2 separate regions of the Homo sapiens genome follow, and region 1 is linked to region 2. Evidence: promoter capture Hi-C in 16 types of primary human blood cells and fetal thymus (Javierre and others, 2016). All regions are on one chromosome and are shown on one strand. Each heading gives the region's core, a stretch centred on a gene start or on the middle of the fragment in contact. The rest is flanking DNA. Distances are from core to core; before and after follow the strand shown.

Evidence for each region. The method cuts DNA at HindIII sites, captures the fragments that hold promoters and counts their contacts. A CHiCAGO score of 5 or more calls a contact.
Region 1: the fragment with the promoter of GRHPR here is called in contact with a fragment that was not itself captured in region 2 in 1 of 17 cell types (neutrophils); the score reaches 5.7 in neutrophils.

What each region holds. Positions count from the first base shown.
Region 1 is chr9:37,420,338-37,425,762 of GRCh38, reverse strand. GRHPR (glyoxylate and hydroxypyruvate reductase) reads right to left here and starts at 3,067. Exons shown (of 9, transcript NM_012203.2): 1 at 2,930-3,067; 2 at 788-918. The coding sequence starts at 3,012. RefSeq lists enhancers at 1-795, 2,470-3,095, 3,096-3,721 and a silencer at 3,106-3,255. The HindIII fragment of the contact is 7,938 bases long and covers 243-5,425 here.
Region 2 is chr9:36,396,493-36,401,841 of GRCh38, reverse strand. It overlaps RNF38 (ring finger protein 38), which reads left to right and starts at 1,573. Exons shown (of 12, transcript NM_022781.5): 1 at 1,573-1,745. The coding sequence starts at 1,734. It overlaps LOC124902152 (a long non-coding RNA gene), which reads left to right. Exons shown (of 2, transcript XR_007061475.1): 2 at 257-377. RefSeq lists silencers at 514-973, 1,004-1,333 and an enhancer at 1,544-1,613. The HindIII fragment of the contact is 5,581 bases long and covers 1-4,933 here.

The sequences.
Region 1 (5,425 bases), core at 1,818-4,317, 1.0 Mb before region 2:
CCTCAGACACTGCAGTTCAGGGAGGTTAAGTGGCCTGGCTCAGTCACAGGCAGAGCCGGGTTCACCTCAGGGCCTCTGCCACCAAGGCCCCGCTCTTACCCACTGGACTGTCCACCCAGCGAGGCCTCCGGTCTTCTTTAGCCACGCTGGGGCCTCCCCCATGGACACCTCTGAGAGTGCCAAGAAGGTGGCTGGGACGTGACCCTCTCTACCCTCTCCTGCAAGCAGGACACCACAAAGCTTCCAGGCCAAGGCCAGGATGTGGGGCGGCTCAGCACTGACTCACAAGGGTCCCTTCCCATCTGGCAGCCTCTGAGTCTGAACCTTTTCTCAAAACTGTCACAACAGCCTCACAGGGGGAGGTTTATTCTTCCATGGGCTGAGACCCGTGGCTGCGGTTGAGGAAAGACATCCTGCTGGGGCTTGGCACTGAGCTAGGTCCTCCCTCATACTACGCACACGCCCAGAAGGGGCAGGGTCTTGCTGGAGGTCACAGAGCAAGGTTGTGGCAGGGCTGGAGAACCCAGGGCCTTGGATGCACTTCCCCACACCCACAGTCTCCACACCGCGGTCTTTGCCCTCCTAGGGTCCCCCGCCAAGGGGTTCACAGCAGGAGGGAGGGGCAGTGCCTGTGCCAGAGCAAGCTATCTGCCCGCTCGGGCCTGGTATCGCAGGAAACGCCCTCAGAACCCAGACAGCACTGCAGAGCAGCCAGGAGCCAGCAGCACAGGCTGAGGGGCCCACAGGGCCAAGCCACCCTCAAGTCCCCTGCCCACCCAGTGTGCACCTGCAGCATCCAGGATCCTCTTGTCCACGTGGTCGGAGAGGAGGCAGAGCAGGCCGTGGGCCCCCGCCACACCTCGCTCTAGCTCCTTGGCAGGGATGGGCTCATCCGAGTCCCACTGCTCCACCTCACAGCTGCGGGGAAAGGGAGGCCCTCAGGAGAAGCAGGAGCCGCACACCTGTCCCCGCCCCTCCCAGCTGGGAATCCTGGCCTCTGATGGCCCTGGCCTCAGGCTGCCCGGGGCTGGCTGAGGGGAGGCAGGGTCAGGCAGGGGTGGTCTCAGAACTGTCCCGAGACAGCAGGTGACAGGTGAAGGGCTGAGGGGCCCCCCAGCAGAGCCTAAGCTGCAAGGGGGAAGGCATGGGGACAGCTCTCAGGTCAGCACAGAGAAGAGCTTTCCCACATTCACAGGGGCTGGGCGGCCAAGCAGGCGGCCAACTGCAGGGAAGGCCCGTGGGGGGCAGGGTGTGCCTCAGGTGGGGGGCCTGGATTCAATGGCCTGTTGCATCTCTTCCTGTCCGTGGAGTCCATGAAATAGAAAACTCTCATAGTTGGACTGGGCCAGGAAAGATAAGGTCAAGGCCACCCAACGCTTCCACGGCAGCTCACAGCAACCAGATATTTGTCCCAGTGATGCACGGTGCCTCCTGGCCCTTGCCATGGAATTCAGTACAGTCAGCACGTGTGGAGCCTCTATGTGGCAGGACACAGGATAGCTACTTGCACCTCCTGACTGAGCCCAGGGCACTGACCACCTTTCATCCACCTCCCCATGAGCAGGGTACAGCGTGAGCTACTGTTACCATGGGCGCGGTTGCTGCCTTCCACCTTCTCCTGCTCAGTACAAAGTGGGTCCTTGGCAAAGGTTTTGTTGCAGTGAACAAAATTTGAAAATCTCATATGCCCCTAGAACTGGCTGCTGAGGCTGGATTGCATCCTCTTCCTATCTAACATTGGAAACACAAACCTGATCAAATGCAGTGATCAGACAGCAGTCAGACACTTCTGAGTACAAGCCCCAGCTCCTCCACCTGGGAGCTGCATGGCTTTGGGAAGAAACTTAACCCTAAGTCCAGCCTCCAGTTTTTAATCTGTGCAATGGGAATTATAATACTGACTTCACAGTGCTACCAGGATTAAAAGTTTATGTATATGAAGCACCTGGCAAGGTTGGCCCACAAAAAGGGTTCCATTTAGCAAGGGTGGGCCAGGTGCAGTGGTTCATGCCTGTAATCCCAGCACTTTGGGAGGCTGAGGTGGGAGGATCCCTTCGTACAGGAGTTCAGGACCAGCCTGGGCAACACAGTGAGACCCTCGTCTTTGAAAAAAATAAAAAATTAGCCAGGCATGGTAGTGCATGCCTGTAGTAGTCCCAGCTACTTGGGAGGCTGAGGTGGAAGTATCTCTTGAGTCCAGGAGGTTGAGGCTGCAGTGAGGTATAATGGTGCCACTGCACTCCAGCCTGGATGAGAGTGAGACCCTGTCTTAAAAATTAAAGGGTCCTCAGGCCAGTCATGGTGACTAACACCTGTAATCCCAACACTTTGGGAGGCTGAGGCAAGAGGATTGCTTGAGCCCAGGAATTTGAGACCAGCCTGAGCAACAGAGTGAGACCCCCATCTCTACAAAAAAAAAATCAGAAAATTAGCCGGTAGTGATTGTTTGCGCCTGTAGTCCCAGCTACTCGGGAGGCTCAGGTGGGAGAACTGATTGGGCCCAAGAAGTCGAGGCTGCAGTAAGCCACGATCGATCGAGCCACTGCACTCCAGCCTGTGCAGCAGAGTGAGACTGTCTCAAAAAAAAAAAAAAAAAGATAAGTAAATATAAAGAAGAAGAGTCATCAAAGCCCCCTGCCAAACGTCCAAGGGCCTGGTCAGTGACCGCCATGTCCCTGACCCCACATGTCCTGTGGGAGCGTGGAGAATTAGCCTGGACCTTGCCTCAGGGGCAATCTCCCCTCTCCAAAGCCGGAACTGCAGGTCCCAGCGTCGTCTTAAGAGGAGAACTGGGCCCCAGAGAACTTTCTCCGAGACTCCCCAAAACTCCAAGCCTGCCCCAGCCGGCCACAAGGCCCAAACGCCCCGCCCGGCTCTCCGGTCCCTGGGACCGCCCTGCTCCCTCCTCCACGGCGCGCGAGGCTCTTACTCTGCCGCCCGGGCGAGCGCGACCCTACCCTCGGCGGGTATCCTGCGGGTGACGAACACCTTCATGAGTCGCACCGGTCTCATCCGCAGTGCAGCCGCCGACCCGGACCTGGCAGTACAGAAGCTGGCCCGGGAATGTAGCTGGGCCGGGGCGGGGCCAGGCTGGAGTGGGCGGGAGAGACGTCGCGCGCGGCGTGCGCAGGGGGTGTGGCTTCGCGAGAGGGAGCGCCGGGTTGCGGCTGAGCGGTGACTGTGCGTGCTCGGGGAGTGACAGTAACAGTGACCCTACACAGTGTCCTTGTGTGTGTGTGGGGGGGTGCGCCTCGTGCCACTGGGGAATCAGGGCCCCGGGGGAGAGGGGGCAGTATCCCGTCCAAGGCCTCATGGGAGCCCTGCTTTTTCTACACGCTCAGGGTCCTGTTTCCACAGGCTCAGGCCTTAAGAGACTGAAAGCCCCCACTTTTTCTGTCTCTTGGGTTGGCCCAGGGTAGAAACCCAGGTTCCAGGCTGTGAGGAAGTCCAGGACACACAGAGAGGTCACGTGTAGGTGTTCAGGCCAACAGCACAGCCAGGGGCCCGGCTCACAGCCACCGTCAATGACCAGAGGTATGAGTGAGGAAGCCTTCGGGTGACTCCAGGCCAACTCCCACCTGACTACAGCTAAAACTGCAAGAAAGAGCCTTTAGGAGAATCACTGGCTGAGCCCAGTCAACCCCGGAACCATAAGAGATGATAATGCACTGACTGCTGTTGCTCTAAGCCGTTCAATTTTGGAGTAATTCTTTATGCAGCAATAAATAAGTGATACGCTATGTGTGCGAAAGCCAGAAGCCATAAGAGTACAACTAATTCTCCATTGAAAAATTAACCGTACCATCCTGAATGCATCTGATCTTGGAAACTAAGCCTGGTTAGGGCTTGTATGGGAGACTGCCTGGAAATACCAGGTGCCTGGAAATACCAGGCTTATGTTTATCTTAAAAAAAAAAAATTAACAAAATCATAAGACAACAAACCGGGAAAAATACCATATATTTGCAACTCATTTTATAGACAAGGGGTTGATTTACTTATTGCACAAATAGTTCCTAAGACAAAGATGCCCAGCTTATCTGAATAAGCAAAGGATATCAATGGACAGTTTATAGAAAAGAAAATGGCCTTTAAATGTATGGCTGGGCGCGGTGGCTCATGCCTGTAATCCCAGCACTTTCGGAGGCCGAGGCAGGCGGATCACTTGAGGTCAGAAGTTTGAGACCAGCCTGGCCAACATGGTGAAACTCTGTCTGTACTGAATATACAAACATTAGGTGGGCATGGTGGCACATGCCTGTAATTCCAGCTACTCAGGAGGCTGAGGCAGGAGAATTGCTCATGAGTCCAGGAGATGGAGGTTGCAGTGAGCCGAGATCCCATCACTACACTCCAGCCTGGGTGACAGAGTGAGACTCCATCTAAAACAAAAAAAAACAAAACAAACAAAAAAAAAAAACAAAAGATGAAAAGTGCTCAACTTGACTCACAAAAGAACTGCATATTAAAATTACAGCAAGATACCAATGTAAAAAATAATACATTGGGGAACCAGGTGCTTTCATACGTTGCTGGTAGGAGTGTAAATCAGCAACTTCAATAAGAAAGTTTGGCAGTAGCTATCAAAGTTTAGACTGCACATCTTTTTTGACCCAGAAATTTTGCTTTTAGGAATTTACCTTACAGACGCGTTCACACATGTGCAAAATGCCATCTGCCAAAGGCTCTTCATTGTGGCATTGTTGGAATAGTAAAATATGGGAAACAACCTAAAGGTCCACTCATAGGGGACTGTTCATTACGTATGCTTCATTCCCACAGTGAAATACTCTGCATCAATCAAAAGAGTGAGGCAGCTCTGTGCGTACCAGTGTGGAATGATCTCCAAGATGTACTGTCCAGTGAGAAAACAGGGTGATGCAAAGTGCATATGTTACCATTTATAGGAGAAAGTATATGCCTATTCTTTTTTTTTTTTTTTTTTTTTTTTTTTTGAGACAGGATCTCAGTCTGTTATCTAGGCTGGAGGGCAATGGTGCAATCTTGGCTCACTGCAACCTCTACCTCCTGTGCTCCAATGATCCTCCCGCCTCAGCCTCCTGAGCAGCTGGGACCACAGGCATGTGCCACCACACCCAGCTAATGTTTTGTATTTTTTGTAGAGACAGGGTTTCATTATGTTGACCGGGCTTGTCTCGAACACCTGGGCTCAAAGCGATCCACTTCCAAAGTTCTGGGATTACAGGCGTGAGCCACGACACCTGGCCACCTATTTCTGTGTGTTAAATATCCCTGGAAAGATGTACAAGAAACATCTTTCTTGTTTCTTTGGGAACAGGCCAGGTGCAGTGGCTCATGGTTTGTAATTCCAGCACTTTGGGAGGCTGAGTCAGGAGCATTGCTTGAGCCCAGGAGTTTGAGACAAGCCTGGGCAACATAGCGAGACCCTGTCTCTACAAAAAAA
Region 2 (5,349 bases), core at 894-3,393:
CTTAATAATTTTACTCTACCACCCTAAAATATGATCACCATCCTTGCGGGAAACATCTAATTTCTGCTTTAAAAAGTCCACCCCTTCCATGATGTCCTCTTGACTGCCCTCTCTCCTTAAGTCTGATACCACTTTACTATTTTTTCCTTGTATGGATTGTGCTTTTGTGGAAATTTTTATTTTCTCTCTTGTATCGTGATTATCAGGACAGGAGCCAAGCCGGCTTCAATCTTTGTTCTTATTTCCCCTCCCCAAGCGACATCTGAGCAACTGTCACACTTAAGGAAGCCTCGGACAAGTTGGGTTCGAACCTGTTGGCTTGCTGCATTGAGAGACACCTTTGTGTACTGCAATAAAAATTCTTACTTTTCGGGCCACGTGAATGCATTTATGCTGTAAGAACTACGTGAGGTCAGTTACTGTTTGATTGCGGAGTTTTGTAGGTAGGAGGCACGGAACAGTAGCAACAATTTACTAAGAGAAAATCTATAGGAATTGGAACAGGGCCCTGCGGTCCGCAGGGCAGCGGGGGGCGGGCTGGGGCGGGGCTGCGCAGTGGTGCTGCGCGCGGAGCTCTGTTGCCGGAACTGGTCCGAGTCGTGCGCCGGGCCGCGCGCAGCCCCGCCCCGCCCCGCCCCGCCCCCTTCCCCCTCGGGGTGGAAACAAAGGGGGTTCGGCGCGCGGTGCGGAGCCTGGGGGAAAAGGGAGGAGCGCTCCGGTGGTCTGGCGCGCTGGGCTCGCTAGGTTTGTGCTGGCGAGGGGACGGGGTGGGACGGGCGACCCGGACCCAAGAAGTGGGAGGACCGCGCGTGTCGCGGCCTAGCGGCGAGGGGAGTCGCCTGCGCGCGCAGCGGAGGCCAGTGCGCCGGCGCATAGGGAGCCCGGGTCTGTGATCGCCGAGGCGGGGTGAGGCGGGGTGCGGCGGGGCGCGGCGGGGCGGGGAGGGGCGTGGCCGGGCCGGGCCCCTAGTGCGGTGTTGCGGGACGGGGCCGAGGCCCGGTCGGTTGGGGCGTGGGGGCGGAGAGGATGGAGCCTCCGAGGCGTTAGGCGACTCTGTCATCTCTGGGCGTGCAGCCGTCGTTTCCTGGCGCGGCCCGTGTGATGGTGCCGGGAGGAAGGAAGCGCAGTGACAGTGCCTAAGTTGGAGCCGGGGTTCCGGGGGTGAGGAGGCCCGCGGACGGCGGATCTGGCGAGCTGGCCGCGGGCTGGGCGAGCAGTCACAATAGGAGGCGGCGGCCCAGCGAGGATCCGCGGGAGCTGCCCGGCAGGGCGGAGCCTCCCCTCGCAGGTACTGGCCGCCGCGGCCGTTGGCTGCAGCGCGAGGGCGGGACGGGCTGCGGGCCGTTGAGAGCCTGCGGGGCCGCGCCCGAGTCTTGGGCTAAGGTTTGCCTCGGCCGCCCGGCGCTCTTTGTTCCCGCGGTGGCGAGGAGGCGCGGTCTCAGCTCGCGGAGCCGCCGGCCCGCTGCCCGGCAGATGGCCTCGCTCTCTCGCTCCCTCCCTTTTTGCCGAGACGCAGGTGAAATGATGTCACCCAGGAGAACGCGGAACCCGGTCGAAAGGGTCCTCTCTGGCGTCCTTCTGCTTCCGTGGGTTTCTGGATAGGCTGCGTTTTGTTCTCAGGGGATGCAAGTTCTTCCTTTCAGGGTTGAAGCGTGAGAGAGGTTGGTTTTTGAAACGGGAGTGTTTCAGGTTATTGAGGTCCAAAAAGAAATAAAGTTTTTGTTTACGTCTGTATGGCTTGTAAGGTAAAGTATTTTTCTTTGTGTTGCAAAAATGATATATGCTATTATTCAGTAAAAGTTGGGTATGCTAATTCTACCGTAAGTAGAAACACACACATGTAATTATTGCCACCATTATATGAATTGCCATTTCTTTTTTCTTAAGCGGTGGACTTAACGTATGAAAACTTAAATGTATACAAAGCTCATAATACAGTTGTTACCTTAGAGTTGCAAGTCTGCTGTATTCTGTTTGGCCTTGATTGCGAGTGTTGTTATACTTGAAAATTTACCGTAAATTTTTTTCAATAGCAAACAAACCTTGTATGTAGGCTTTAAAAAAAATTCCCTTTTATAGGGACAGTTGGAATCGAAGTAAAATTGTTCCTATCTTCAGGGAACACCGTCTAATGGAAGAAATAGAACTTTTGTAGAGATAATACGAAACCACATACATATAGATGTCAGATCAGGTGTGGGAAGCTGGGACACACTTGGAATAAAAAGATGAAATTTCTGACTGGAAGTTTACCTGGGAATTGTGTCACTTCAGATACTCCTTTCTCTGGGGTTTATAAATATATATTTATAATATATTTATTTATAATATGGTATTATATAATATATTATATATATTTATAATATGGTATATTTCACCTTTTGCAAACCTGCTAATCATACATTGTTCATTCAATTTTAAGTTGATTTTTATGATATTTCTGTAAGACTTATTTCTAAGAGATTTGAAGGCCTTAGCGCCTATAGTTGAATAAGTTCTGCCACAGACTCGTCATGTGGGCCTCAGGCTCTCATCTGTAAAATATAAAAAAAGTTGGACTTAAATAATCTGTGGGTTTTCCACCTCTGACTTCGTCTGTGATTCTAGAAGGTAGTTCGTATTTCCATACTTGTTGGGCTTTATATGCCCATCTTGTTTTTATAGTTAAATTGTCAAGTATTACTCTGGGTGAATATTGAGGAGAATTTTCTCTACTAAAATAACCTAATTTTTGATGAAGAGTAAACAAGATGGCATAGTCAGACATAACTGACTGTTAGCATCATAATGTAGAGTGTAGATCTGTTGTCTCTCTGCCAACAGCATTGGATGAGGCTTTTAATTCATGTTACATTCCTAGGCTGTTTCTGTTTGTGCTCACTTTCTTTTTTTGAGGCTGTGAGTGGAAAGTGTGGGTGAGAAATTCTTATGATAAAAGTTTCTGAAATGATTAGGTACTTGCTCAGTATGGAAAGATTATTGGTCAAGATTATGTCTTCTAGTTTATTCCACCTATTTCTCTGTACTACCTCTAGTTTGGTTTAGGCCACCACCATTTTGTAATTCATCTTGCTGGAAAGGTAGTTCTTAATTAGTCTTGATTGTTGCGTTGTGTTTGTTTTGGTTTTCCTGCTAAGAAAACATGTCAGACAGTTTTCACTTCCATTTTACTCTACTTAACTCACAGCCTTTTCTCTGGAAAGAGCGAACAGATTGTAAACATGGATTTGAACAGTATAGTTCTTGTCTAGTTCATCAGCAAACGTTAATTAATACGACGTTATCTAGAGGAGATAAAGCATTAATACTTGAACTCTATATAGTAAATTAATGAGAGAAATTTAGAATAAACAGATGAAGAAGAGGGGTCATGTACACAGTCTCTTCCCAACTCTTACATCTTTCATTAAAAAAATTTTTTTTTAATTTTAGTTTTTCCAGAAACGGGTTTTGCTATGTTGTCCCTTCTGGACTCGAACTTCTGGGCCCAGGTGATCCTCCTTTCTTGGCCTCCTGAGTAACTAGGACTACAGGTGTTTGCCATGGAGCCTGCCTGCCTTAGATCTTTCCCTTTGTTAAGGATCTGAACTTTTCACCTCTTCTATCTAGGTTATGGAGCCCTATTATCTTCTTGTAGTTCCTGTTATTAATTGTCCCTCACTAGACTGAGTTGCTTTAAGGGTAAGGACTGTTTCTTTTTCCCATTTTGTAGTCACAGCATCCAGCATATGGCAGGCAAGCAATAATTATTTGAATTATGATTGTTATTTAATAAAATTATAACTCAATCATACCTCTTTTTTCCAACTATTGTAAAACCCACAATTATTGTGTAAGTAATTATATGTGTGTGCGCCGTGTGTGTGTTTGGAGAGAGGGAGAGGGAGAGAGTGTATAAAATTTTTTATTGGTTTGGACTTTTGTGGTCTAGATATTTTTTCACATCTGTGTAATTCTTTGTGGTAACCAACCTAAGTAAAACGATTTTAGACATACTTCTTTGAGGGGAGAAAAATCTTTGTGTAGGCAAATTTAGATTTTGGAAGGGAAGGAAAGAAAAGTTTATTTAAAATATGTAACTCTTATTTTTCCTACCCTTTATTTCTGCATTCTCTGTGTAATGGATAGAGGATTTCTTTCGTTGCATCTGTTTTCTTTTCCCTTTTCCTTCTTTTTCATCACCTTATGGGATTGTGGACTGGGGAAAGGAAGTAGGGGAGCCTTAGGCTGTTTTCACACACCCTATTTCTGCTGTGCTCTCAGAAAGAGATGGGTCCTGTTTGTTTGCCTAACTCAAGAGTGGGAACCATAATTTCTGTTTAGAAATGATTGTCCGGTGCTGGGCAGTAATGAACATCCTCACCCACATAGTACCAGTCCTTGAATGGTTTCTCCTAATACTGCCTATTAGCTTTTCAAAATTATTTTTAAATTATTTTTTAGCTCACGCCTGTAATCCCAGCACTTTGGGAGGCCGAGGTTGGTGGATCACCTGAGGTCAGGAGTTTGAAACCAGCCTGAATAATATGATGAAATCCTGTCTCTACTAAAAATAAAAAAATTAGTCGGGTGTGGTGACCAGCACCTGTAATCCGCTACTCTGGAGGCTGAAGCAGGAGAATTGCTTGAACCCAGGAGGTGAAGACTGCAGTGAGTCAGGATTGTGCGAGTCAGGATTGCGCCACTGCACTCCACCCTGGGCAACAAGAGCAAAGCTCTGTCTCAAAAAAAAAAAAACAAAACATATATATATATATATACACACACACATATATATACGTATATATACATGTGTATATACGTATATACGTATATACACACACACACACATATATAAAGCAAATTGTGACCGTTGTGTAGTGAGAGAATGATTTTTTTTTTATTCCTTTCAGTCTTTTTCATGTGTCATTTGTGTATGAGAACTGTTGAAGCTTAGAGATGAATGACTTAGAAATTTTGTCTTGGATCTCAAAGGGTAGTAACATCTCAGAGGGTCAGTTCTACCCAGTGTTTGGACCTCAGTTTTCCAGAACCAGGCTCTCGATTTTTTTTTTTAAAGAAGCTTTATTAAGTTATGTTTTATATACCATAAAATTCACTCCATTCAATTAGATTTTTTTGGTTACATTTTGAACATTTCTGTCATCCCCCAAAGATCCCTGTGCCCATCCAGGCCTGCCTTTTGCATAACTCTAAGCGTGCACAGTCCCATTCCTGTTTGCAGTGTTCTCTCCTGGACCAGCTTTGAAGAATGCCATCCGGGACTTTGAGTACCCCTGCTCCACACTGTCAAAATCCTTTCAGAGAACTCTGCTCCCAGAAAACAAAAGCCAAGGAAACAGATTTGTT